2 separate regions of the Homo sapiens genome follow, and region 1 is linked to region 2. Evidence: promoter capture Hi-C in 16 types of primary human blood cells and fetal thymus (Javierre and others, 2016). All regions are on one chromosome and are shown on one strand. The core of a region is centred on a gene start or on the middle of the fragment in contact, and the rest is flanking DNA. Distances in the headings are between cores, read along the strand shown. Region 1 has its middle 330 kb from the start of KCNH8. Region 2 holds the start of SATB1-AS1 (SATB1 antisense RNA 1).

The links. The method cuts DNA at HindIII sites, captures the fragments that hold promoters and counts their contacts. A CHiCAGO score of 5 or more calls a contact.
Region 1: a fragment that was not itself captured here is called in contact with the fragment with the promoter of SATB1-AS1 in region 2 in 5 of 17 cell types (fetal thymus, activated CD4 T cells, total CD8 T cells and 2 more); the score reaches 8.3 in fetal thymus.

Annotation. Positions count from the first base shown.
Region 1 is chr3:18,816,624-18,822,758 of GRCh38, forward strand. No RefSeq gene overlaps it. Among named protein-coding and RNA genes, the nearest start is that of KCNH8, 330 kb to the right of the region's middle. The HindIII fragment of the contact is 789 bases long and covers 1,138-1,926 here.
Region 2 is chr3:18,441,027-18,446,885 of GRCh38, forward strand. SATB1-AS1 (SATB1 antisense RNA 1) reads left to right here and starts at 4,211. Exons shown (of 7, transcript NR_125803.1): 1 at 4,211-4,416. It also overlaps a transcript of SATB1 not described here. RefSeq lists a silencer at 4,117-4,336. The HindIII fragment of the contact is 8,267 bases long and covers 1,823-5,859 here.

The sequences.
Region 1 (6,135 bases), core at 282-2,781, 370 kb after region 2:
TGGATATTAGTTATAACCTGGTATTATTTTCTTACTCCAATATAACTATGCTCCTGCCCACCTCCTTTGTGCTGCTGTCATCAAGTATATTATACATGCTATGGGCCCAACAATACAATTATATACATATTGCTTTATGCTAGATCATTATCTTTACTACCATGCTTTGTTTTTTCATGTCTGAAGAAATTTCTTTAAAACTCCTTCTAAGACAGATTTGCTAGCAACAGATTCTCTCAGTTTTTGTTTATCTTGGAATGTATTTGTTTCACTTTCATTTTTTAAAGATAATTTTGCTGGAAATAAGATTCTTGGGGTTGGAAATTTTTTTAATTTTTAGTAAGTTTTTTCTTTTTTTGTTAAAGTTGTATTTTAGGTTCAGGGGTGCATGTGCAGACTTGTTATATAGGTAAACTCATCTCATGGGGGTTTGTTGTACAGATTATTTCATCACCCATGTACTACGGCTAGTATCCAATAATTAATTTTTCTGATCCTCTCCCTCCTCCCACCCTTCACTCTTATGTAAAACTCAGTGTCTGTTGTTGCCCTCTTTGTGTCCATGAGTTCTCATCATTTAGCTCCCACTTACAAGTAAGAACATGTGGTATCTGGTTTTATGTTCCTGCATTAGTTTCCTAAGGACAATGGCCTCCAGCTCCATCCATGTTCCCATGAAAGACATGATTTCACTCTTTTTTATGGCTGCACAGTATTCCATGGTGTAGACATGCCACATTTTCTTTATCCAATCTGCCATTGGTGGTCATTTAGGTTGATTTCATATCTTTGAACTTTTAGCATTTTAAATTGCCTTTTGACATCCATTGTTCCTGATGAGAAGTCAACTATTAATCTTCAGGTATCACTTTTACATGATGATCACTTTTATCTCTTACTCTTTTCAAAATTTTCTCCTTGTTTTTAATCTTTCAACATTTTAACTATGATGTATAGATACAGTTGTGGGTATACAGGTGTGGATTTCTTTACATTTTTCCTACTTAGAGTTTCTTGAACTTTGGGGTATGTGCAGATTAATGTTTTTCATCAAATTTAGGAAGATTTCAGCCTTTATTACTTCAAATTCTTTTGTTTGTACTTTCCCTCTCCCCTCTTGTAGTGGTATTCCCATTAAGCTTATGTTAGTGCACTTGAAAATGTCTGATATTTCTCTGGGACTCTGCTCATTTTTATTTATTCTTTTTTTCCTCTGTGTTCTTCAGATTGCATAATCTCTACTGATCTATCTTTAGGCTTTCTAATTCTCTTTTCTGCCAGCTCCAATCTATTGTCAATCCCCTCTAGTGATTTACAATTTTGCTTATTTTACTCTTCAACTACACAATTACCATTTGACTCATTTAAAAAATATAATAATTTTGTCTTTTTGTTGCTATGCTCTATTTGATACGACATTATGATCTCATCAAGATATGATGAGATATACCTTTCTTTTATGCTTTAAGCATAGTTTCCTTTAGTTCTTTAAACATGTTATAATGGCTACATTTTTGTCTTTTTAAAATCTGACATCTTGTTCCTTTCACAGGCAGCTTCTGTTTGCTGCTTTTTTTCTGTGTATGGGTCATGCTTTCCTATTTATTTGTATGTCTCATGAGTTTTTACTGGAAACTAGACATTTTAGATAATATATTGTAGATACTTTGGTTATTGACTTTCCTGCTCCAGGAGTTGTTACTGTGTTTGCTTGACCCTTTGTTTATTTGTTTAGTAACTTAGATGAACTAAATCTGTGAAGTCTATTTCCACAGTGTGCAGTCTTATTTACATGTTTCTCCTCAGAGGGTGCAGCCTTGGGCATGTGTATTGTCATGATCCTGTCCGCCACACCCGCACACCTTCAGTGGTGATCATGATTTTATCCTGGCTCTTTGATTGTCTCTTTGCCTGATTTTCCTGTTAAGCTTCTGGCTGGTCTGCCTGTATTGGTATCACACACAGCTCTTAGTGTCCATGAATTCCTAGCTTATTGCTCTATTGTTTTCAACAATGCCTGGGGCATAAGTTGCTCCATTGTCCAATCCAATTAACCATGGGTTTGCACAGATATTATTCGTGGCCTGTCTTTTAGACTTTCTCAGATCACTAGAGTGTTCTTCTTAGTTAACTATTTTCTTATTAAGCTTCTGGCTAGTCTCCACTTCACTTGTTGATATCATGAAGCTACTAGACTTCTTTTAATTTCTCATCACTAAAATCTCCACTGTTTTCAACAATGACCTAAGGTTTGAATTTCCCTATGCTCTAATCCAAATAAAGCTGGTCACTTTATGGAGAGCTATGGACCTCTCTGCTCTTACAGCCTGCCCTCCCCGTGGACAGAACGTCAGGATTATTGCTCCGGAGTTAAAAAATGGAAAGTGCCCAGCTTCTTTAAGGGTGACATCCCTACTCTATTAGGGGGTCATTGGTTCTAGGAGGTATCTCTGTTAGTGAGCTGAGGTAAGAGTAAAGAGGTCTCAGTACTCTTAAGTTGCACACATATTGGACAAAGCTCCACCATACAAGTGGGGACTGGGCAGAAAAAGGGAGCCCTAAAACTCCAGGCCACACTTGCCTTGAACACAGCTTCTGCCAGCTAAAGCTTGGAGAGAGGAAAAATACTGGTGTCCTGATGCTCCAGGGAAGAAGTCATGGCCCTAGACTGAGAGCTAAGAGGAGGCAGAGCCCTGTGATTTTGTTTAAAGCCACCAGGAGTAGAGCTTCCACCACACTCAACTGGAGTCAGGTGGGGCTGGGGCAGGGAGGAGATCTGGTCATGGTTCAGTGTCACAGACTTACTAGTTTTACCAAGATTTGGTAATTTTTTCTTGAATAAAATGTTTCTCCATTTTCTGCATGCCCTTAGCATAAAATTTCTAGAGACCTTAATTTTTTTCTTAAAAAACTTTGACCAGGTAGGTTGTTCCACTGAAGAGGGCATCTACACAGCTCCTCACATTGCCACTTCAATTTTGTAATAGATTTATGTTTAGCTTAGTATAAGTTCAATATTTTTCCAAAGTCTTGCTCAGAATGGAAATTTCGTATTCATTTAAATCTTAATGCAAATATGATGTATTCTTTTTCTTTCTATCTATACATGGTTAGAGTCAAGAATATGAAATCTTCAAAGATCATAAACAGATTGACCAATTAAAAATTGGGGGAATTTAGCCAGGTGTGGTGGTACATGCATGTAGACCCAATTACTCAGGGGGCTGAGGCAGGAGGATCACTTAAGCCCAAGAGTTTGAGGCTGTAGTGAGCTATGATATTGCCACTGCATTCCAGTCTGAGCAAGAGAATGAGACCACATCTCTGAAAAAAAAAAAACCTGGAAGGGAATATCCAGAGATATATAGAGGAAGAATATCATTATCCTCACAGAAATGATGTAATTTATAATGCCAAAGTAAACTACATAAAACTGAATTAATCTATGTTCCAGTCTAAAACTGAGATACACTTTAAAAATTAATCCCACATTTAATTTGAAATGCAATTTAAATTGGAAATGTGGAAAGAGGATATCGTTTGATATCATCATGTTTTTAAGTTCTTGTACCTTAATATCTATTTCTTTTATGTCGGTTAGGTTCTCAGTCTCTCTGGGACATTCTCTGAATGTCCTCCTTCTTACCCTTTATTTCTCCCCCACCACAAACACACACAACCCAATCGGCATTGGCTTTTGTCTTCTCCACTCTGGTTTTTTCCTATTTGTATCTGTTAATTTCTCTTCTGCCGCTAACCCTCTGTTTTCAATTTTCAGTGACTTACTGTTCTCTCTCTCAATTACTTTCATGATTCTCCACAAGAAACACTCAGAATCCAAGTTAGCAGACACAGATTTCTCGTTAACAGTGTTGTGGGAAAAAGATATTTTGAATACCTAGATGTTAAGTTTTTGTTTTCTATTCACTAGAAGAAAAGACTGCCAATACTAAAATCCTTCTGTATTAGTAAAAATGGCAATCATGGAATAATGAGCTGGTACCCTCCCACGGAATACTGCCAAAAAAATCTTTGCTTTAACCTTTCTCACTTATTCTCTTCTCAGCCATTTTGGAAAACTAAGACATCTTACCAGACACTTCAATAGTACATATTTTATAAAAATTAAATTAACTGACTAGCATATAAGTCACTTCTTTAGTAGCTGCTCAATAAATGTTAATTTTCTTTCTATTTTCTGCTTACTACTGGGCAATTCAGCCTGTGCATACAGAATGGGAAAGTGCCACACTCCCTTCTGTAGGCTTCTACTGGTTCCTTTTGATTTTCCTGAACATATGAAAATATGCCTAGAATGCTGGCAATGATTTTCTAGGATTAGCAGTTGAGAAAAGAATCTTCTGACAGTGGCTTAGGGTTATTCACTAACATATTTACTGTGCAGATGTACATTGGTAGATTTCAAGAAAGAACTGATGCAGTGTTCTACATTTGCATTAATTAACACAACACTGGCAAGTGGCACTGTGCAGCATGTAAAAAATATTTTAACTCACTATTGTTTACATTGACCTCTTAAAAATATAAAATGGAAATATTTTCCTTACCAAGATAGTTTTCCCTCTGCATTATGAGCATTCTGTTTTTTCATTGGAGGTTTTATCCTGCTTTCTGTCTCATAAAGTTAAAAATTAAACATAGAGAATGATAGATAATAGTTAGATCATAGGTAGATCATAGATAGATAGACAGACAAACTTATTTTGAAGTTCTGAAACACTATTTTTATATAAAATACTGGTATCTAAAATATAGTCTGGGCTGTAGAATTTCTGTTCCCCAAATGTACACAGAATAGTATCTATGAAGAAAGTTGGTCTAGACTCTACAGAGCTATAAAAACAACCCATTATATGCAGACCATCACCACTACCATTATCAATGCTACTGCCACTGGCATCACCACCACCACTACCCCGAACCCCTATCTCACACCAAGTAAGTTGCTGCATAAAGGTGACTCAAGGGAAGCCCTCTTGTCAAATGCATAGTCTGTATCTATCTAGCTCAGCTAAAATGGAGAAATGCCAATTATCTGGTTAAATTTGATCAGTGGAGGCAATCAAATATGTGTTATATACATGTCTGAAGGATCTTGCTTGGCTTTGATAGTTGACATATCTCTACTTCAATACAATATAATGTGCCATGAAATTTTCCCCTACATATCTTCCAAAATATTTCGAGAGAATACTGGAGAATTTATGAAAAGAAGTTTGGATTAAAATGGTATATTCTGTCCATATGTAGCTGGAAGGTGAAGGAGCTATCAGGGAAGAAAATTAGAATCTAGGATAGAAAGAATAAAAAAGGAAGGTGCTGTGAAAATCTTAAAAGATTGAGAAAACAAAGGATCATAAGAACAGAGTGGAAATCACAGAGGAAAAGGATCTGGCAGGTCATAGAAATAATCTCATCCATTGAGTCAAGCAACATCTTCAAATTTGCATATTACCTTAGAGTAGCAAAGAGGACCTGAAAGTGTGCAAGTAACTACCATGGAACAAAAATTCTTATTTTGTGATAACTTTGTGGGTTTGTGCTGTCTTGTCTTATGTCGACATGCATAGATACCCTATGTTGTAAAGGAACTTTCAAAGAACTGTTTGGCCAAATACTAATTTTGCTGAACATATATAGTTGTTTTACTAAAAGAGTGAAATCATCAGAAAAATTAGTGAAACGCTTAAACAAGTGTAATTTTCTGCAGAAAGTCTCAGGGCCTTGTGATTAGTGAATTTTCTAAAAAGAATTGGGAAGTAAGTACGTCAGGTATCTTTGACCAGGAACATTTTTTTCCTGGAGCTTCTCCTCATAGGATAAAAGAATGTTGTCTAAGTGGCAAAGCCTGAACAGGGAGTGTTTATTGAGGTACGGTATTCTAATATTTTAAATGAGTGAGAGCAGGATAGTACAGTAGGTTGCTCATCAGTAAGCAGGAGAAGGAAAAAATATGCATCATATATACATACAAATGTATGTGTGTATATATATATTTTTTTAATGTGGATGATCTAAAACAAAAATACTGTATTAGTCAGGGTTCTCTAGAGGGACAGAGATAATAGGATAGATGCATATGTAAAGGGGAGTTTGTTAAGGATATTAACTCAC
Region 2 (5,859 bases), core at 2,961-5,460:
GCCACTTTGGTCTTTTCAATATGTATGCTTATTCTGCTCTCTGAAATATCTGAAGGTAAACCATTCATAAAAATCAAACCCCATTCCTTAATTCCAATAGAAATATTGCTGAACTCTCCTGAGAGAAGCGGCAAGTTTGAAGATCAAATGATGATATCCTTCCTAACAGCATTCATGTAAAACGTGTTTTTTCTATTTTATGTATGCCACAAAGCTATGACAGTATATAGCAACTAATTTTCTTTTTATATATGAGTACTGAGCAAAATATTTCGTGGCAGCATTTAAAATAAGAACCCATCTTATCTAAAAAGTGTAAAAGGCAATCTGGGGAGGTTTCTATTTATAACATGAACAAAATTCTGATAATCAATATATTGAAAAGGGAAAAGAGATTAAAAACATTTTTGCATTCAACTACATCATGTCTAGAAATAGTCTGAAGATTGCTTTAGTCATATGCATTTATTTTAAATACTTCATCAATTCCAAGTGCTAATATATTAATTACAGCCATCCAAGACAATATGTATGGAAGAAACTATGTGTGTAAAGGGCATATCTATGTATAGCCCTTTTGGAAATTTACAGAACAGATGAAAACCCACTAGAGTGCTTTATAGAGTCCCTGCTGTATATCCATGTTGTGTTTAGCTTAACAGTGTTTGTAACCAAAATATTTTTACAATAATGAGGAACAGGTGCCTGTCACCTGACCTTTTAGGCCTAATTTACAATCCACAACCTGTCATATGAAAAAGAACTAAAAATTCTCCTCCAGATATTTTAGTCTTTACTAAGTTAATGTAGTATTTCTTTACCATCACTCAGCATATCATGTCTTATTTAATCACAGGTTCATATAGCTGGCAACAGATTTCTTTGCAGAAATAAACCAATATTCATTTTGTTGTCGTTCTTAAGATGCTGGGAGACAAAAGAACTACTTTTGTAGATTATCAACCAAAGAATATATTAATTTCTTACAAATCTGAACAAAAAACATTCCTTTTGAATACTTTTACATACAAAGAACTATTATTTATTACATATTTCAGCTTGTGGGAAAGTGAGGAATGCATTGATTCTGGAAATAACTATTCAGACTTTTGGAAGTTATTTAGGTCTTCTTTCTCTATCTTCCCCCCGCCCCCCATCCTGCCCTCCCACCAAATTTTAAGGAGGTAGTACTTTAGGAGGGAAATCCCTATTCGTTATTTTTTCATATATTATTTATATTCATTATTCAGAAATAAATACAAAATTGAATTGTAATTTTATTTCTCTTGTATAATGTTAGATGTAGCATTATCCAAATTTGACAATGCCTTGTATTTTATAGCTACTGTTTAAATATTATGTATTACCTATGACTGAACAACTCTACATTTAAAATATTGTTTTCATTAGAAAAAACTATGAAGTAGTAAGTGTCAAATGAAGATGAAGAATAAACATATTTGGTATATTTATAAAATGCATAGTCATTTAAAACGTGTACAAATAGAATACATAGTTTGCTACTGTTACATTTTATATAGTATACACATTGTCTACAGTGTATTTAATAATGTGCTTAACCAAGTTAATTAAAGTATTTATGTCTGATGATTGTGTAATAAACACTTGGAGAGGTAGTGAAAGATACAGCCAGTTACTTCTGCTAACTAAAGTTGAAATTATGCACTTATTATAACCTTTTCTAACAATGTGAGAAAAACAGAGTAAATATATTAAATTTGTTTCACAACAGATGCTTAGGTTGTTAATATTTAAGATGCCTATTCATGCTATTCCTGTCTGCACATTTGTCAAAAATGTAAGCTTGAATGCTAATGTTTGCCAGCAGACTGGAGCAGCCAGTATATGAATGTACTACTGTTCTAAGAAAATAATATGCAATAGAAATAGAGGACTACTGCTAAATCATAGCAGTAGTACCATACAGGAGATGAGAGGTTTTTAGAGCAAACACCTCAACCTTGGTTTTCTTCAGACTTAAAGTATGGGTTTTTGTTTTTGATTTTTGCAGCTACATTTGACCACAGAATAAATCTCACATTCCTGACATCTCAGAAAAATCCACTTTGGATAGAGTGTAAATTTCAACTAAGTTTCAACGGGATGAGTTACTCTGTCAGCAGTACAAACACCGTAAATTTCAGATTGCTTAGGACAAAACCTGACACCGAGCGGTAACATTTTACTCATTCTTACCCTACCCGCCACCCCCTTGAGAAAGTCAGGTCCCCTGGCCTCCAAGGATGCAAACATGGAAACCCAGTCAGTCAGAGCAGTAAGGTTCTCTCTGGGGAATAGGGCATCCTTCTGTTTTCCCTGTCTCTTTTATAACCATGTGGAGTCCAAGTCTTAGAACATTTGCTTGTAAGTCCGGAATGCCACTGAGAAAGTTCGCCAAGGAAGGGCGCAGAGGTCAAAGTTGCCAACCAGGACACTTTGAGAGAGGACCCTGTGGTTGACATTTGTTAGTGAAATTTGCAACACCTCAGTGGAGGCCAAGGCCAAAACTTTCAAGGAGATCCCTATGCCCCTTTCCCCTGTTGGTCTTCTGAGGTCATCCCAAGAGGAAACTGCGTTTCCCCAGTAAGCACGTGGCACTCCCCGGACCTGCCACCTGCCTGCTTCGTCCTTCTCGTCGTGGTTTCCCAAACCCCGGTTCTGCCGGCCCGGGAGCCTTAGCACTGGAGCAATAGGAAAAGGCCACCGCGCTCGGGTCTGGACAGCAGGAGGGAAACACGGTGTGGACTGCGAGGCTGCACCTGTGATGTCCCGGCCCCTGCTAAGAGGACGGCCCTTTCTTCTGCCTCTTGCCCAACTCCAAACCCACATTCACGCCAGCAGCCTCTCCAGGACCGGCCTCGCTACAGCCAGCGAGGGCTCGAAATGAGGAGTGCCGCGGCTTTCAAACTCCGGGCTCCAACTTGAGCGCCCCGGCGCCCGAGTAGCTCCCGGGATGCAGAAGTTGCCACAAACTTCCCAGGCCCCTCTTCGCCGATGCTTACAATCAGCCGCGCAGGCAGGGAGCGGAGGGAGGCGGAGATGGACCGGGAAAGGATGCTGAGCAGACTCGCGATCCGGTGGGGGAACATTACCACTCCCGCAGCCCACTCCTCCAGGCACCTTACTGCCCGCCCGGCTCCAGAACGCACCGAGAGGCTCCCCTTTTCCCCATTTGCTTCCTTCGGTCTTTTCCACTCCCCTTTCCTTTTCTAAAAGGGGCCATACCGGTGACCTGAAGGAGTTTGTTCAGCCAGGGTCTATTGGGCAGGTGTGGTGGTGTGTCCACACCCAGACAGAAAACGAATGGCATCTTCAAATCCCCCATCCCGACCGCTCTCCCCTACTCTACCAGCCCACCCCTCCAAGGTCCGTCTGCGTGAGAAAAGGGGCTCGGAAGACCGTTGAAGCCCTGCGCCCACGAGAGGGGAGCCCAGCCGCCCCAATAGGGGACGAGGAGTGGGTGCTACGGAGAAGTTTGGATTGATTCCGGAAAAAGAGGGACAGAGATAAAACAGCAAGAGTAGCAAGGGGAAAAGGGAGGCAAAAGAGCAGAACTCACTCAGGCATGGACGTTGGGGGCGGCGGTGGCTGTCGAGTGCGGGCCTGAAACCAAGAACGGCTCCCCGGGCGGGCGCGCCGGCGTCGGACTTCCGAGGCGGCGGCTTCTGCCTCTCCTGCCGCCGCCGCCGCCGCCGGAGCTGCGGCTGCCGCGGAAGTTAATTGCAACTTGACTTCAAGTTGTCCTCTTTCCCCATACGAAGTGGGCGTTTAAAGGGGAGAGCGAGGCGAGGAGCGAGCGAGCGAGCGCGCGGGGCCAAGGGAAGGAAGAGAAGGAGGGGGAGGGAGGAGATGTTAACGGGCGGGGGGGGGAGAAGGGGGAGGGGGCGGCGGCGGGGGCGGGAGGGGGAAGGGGCCGGCGGGAGCTGCTCTCGTCTCGTCGGTCGCGGCGCCTGCAGTCTGGAGGCGCACCGGAGCGGCCGGGGCGTCCCCCGCGGGAGCCCGCAGCCACCCGGGACGCGCATCCAGACGTGGCGCTTCGGACCGGGCACGCTGCGCCCGGGGGCTCGGCGGACCCCGCGTAGCCGCCGCTTCGGAGCTTGTGCGGCGCGGGCTGGCCAGCGGGGCGGCCAGGGCCCGGCCCGCCTCCCCAGCGCCCGCCCGGCTTCTCCCCCTGGCGGTGGGAGCCTCGGCGGCCGCTGGCGACACTAGGCGCACTGAAGCCCGAGCCGAGCCGAGCCCGAGCCGCCGCCGCCGCCGCCGCTGCTGCGCACCGCTCCCGGGCTCCCTCCCAGCGCGCCGGCCGGGGTGTGGGGGGCGGCGGGCCGGAGGGGCGAGGGCGGGCCAGGGGGCGCACACGGGGGTTGGCGCGGAAGACAGGACCCTCAGCCTCGAGGGGTAAGTGTGGGCGCTTGGGGGTGCGCTTGGGGTGCGCGGCGCGGTTCTCGTCGCCCGCCAACCCTGCCCCCTCACCTCTCCGGGGGCCCCCAACACGCGCACTCCTCCTCTTGTCGCCTGCGGCTTCCTCTTGTTGCTTGTTGTTTGGCTGGGTTTTGGGGGGTGAGTAGAGGGGGTTACTGTAGTGTGTGTGCAGGCGGAGGAGGAAGTCAGGTGAGAGGCCGCGAAGCACCCCCACCCCAACCCAGCCTGCGTGGGGTGTATGCTTCCCCACTAGGGGCATTTGGGCCATTTTTTTTTTCTCCGTCAATGTTCGGTCGAGACGATGTTTCCTAGAGGGCCTCCTTCACTTACAGTCTGGTCTGTCCATCTCCCTTCATCCCACCCTCGTCCGTCTTAGCCCCTTGTCCAGGAGCCCTGCACCCCAAGTGAGGAGCACGTGGCGGAAGGAGGAGGAGGCCCTCTCTTGAAGACCCCCACGCTGTGACCCAGCCCATTAGTTTAAATATTTATCCTCACATCACCAGCTGTACTTTTCAACCCACTGGAACAAGACGCCTAGGCAAGGTCCAATTTCCCCAAAAAGCTGGGGGCAAAGCGGGAGAGATGAGGGTTTTATTGACATTGGGAGAGAAGGGGCCAAGGAACCTTCCCAAGTGGAGACTGAAACTCAAAAAATCTCTACAAAAAGACTAGGGTGACTGGAGGCTCAGGACTGCAGGCTTAGGAGAAACTGGAGCTCCATCAACTTTATTTCTCTCCCCCTGCCTCTCCTCCCCCCAGCTCTGAGGAAGCTAACAGGTCTTTTGTTTTGTATTGTGTAGCCTTTGGGAAATTTGCATTGAGTATGTCAACAGAAAATTACTACTGTTTACTCAAAGGGATTGCAGAAAGATAAAACATAGTAACATAGTTTTTACTTTTCCTCTTCTTTGTACGCTTGTGTGTATTTGGCAAGAAGTGTAGTTAGGTTCATGGCATGAACTGCAAAACGTCAGGTTGTAACAATAAGGACTGTAGAGCTGCCTAGGTGTATTTTTAGAAGCCGCACTTTCTTGAATTCCTTTCACACAAGGCTTGCTCTCTCATTAAGTCCCCATAAATAATTTTATTTAGAGAGGAGGAAACTATGGAAGCAGGAGGGAGATTGCTAAGATTTCCATCCTGCCAGCGCACAGCACTGTTTGCAGGGAAGTTCCTGGAAAGTGATTGTGGGCTGAGAATTCAGTTTTTCCTAAAAGCTCTGTTAGGTCCTGTTGTGTCAGATGGCTATGAATAAAGCACGCTGGGAAAATCCTGATATCCGTGCAGTCTTATTTTATCTTTTACACAGTGGTTGATTCGACTTTCAAGCCCTGGTGACAAACACATCAACTCTGCTGTATTTTTGTGTGCTTTTTCTAAATAAAGGAGAATACAGCATGTATTCATGCTGCTTTTTTC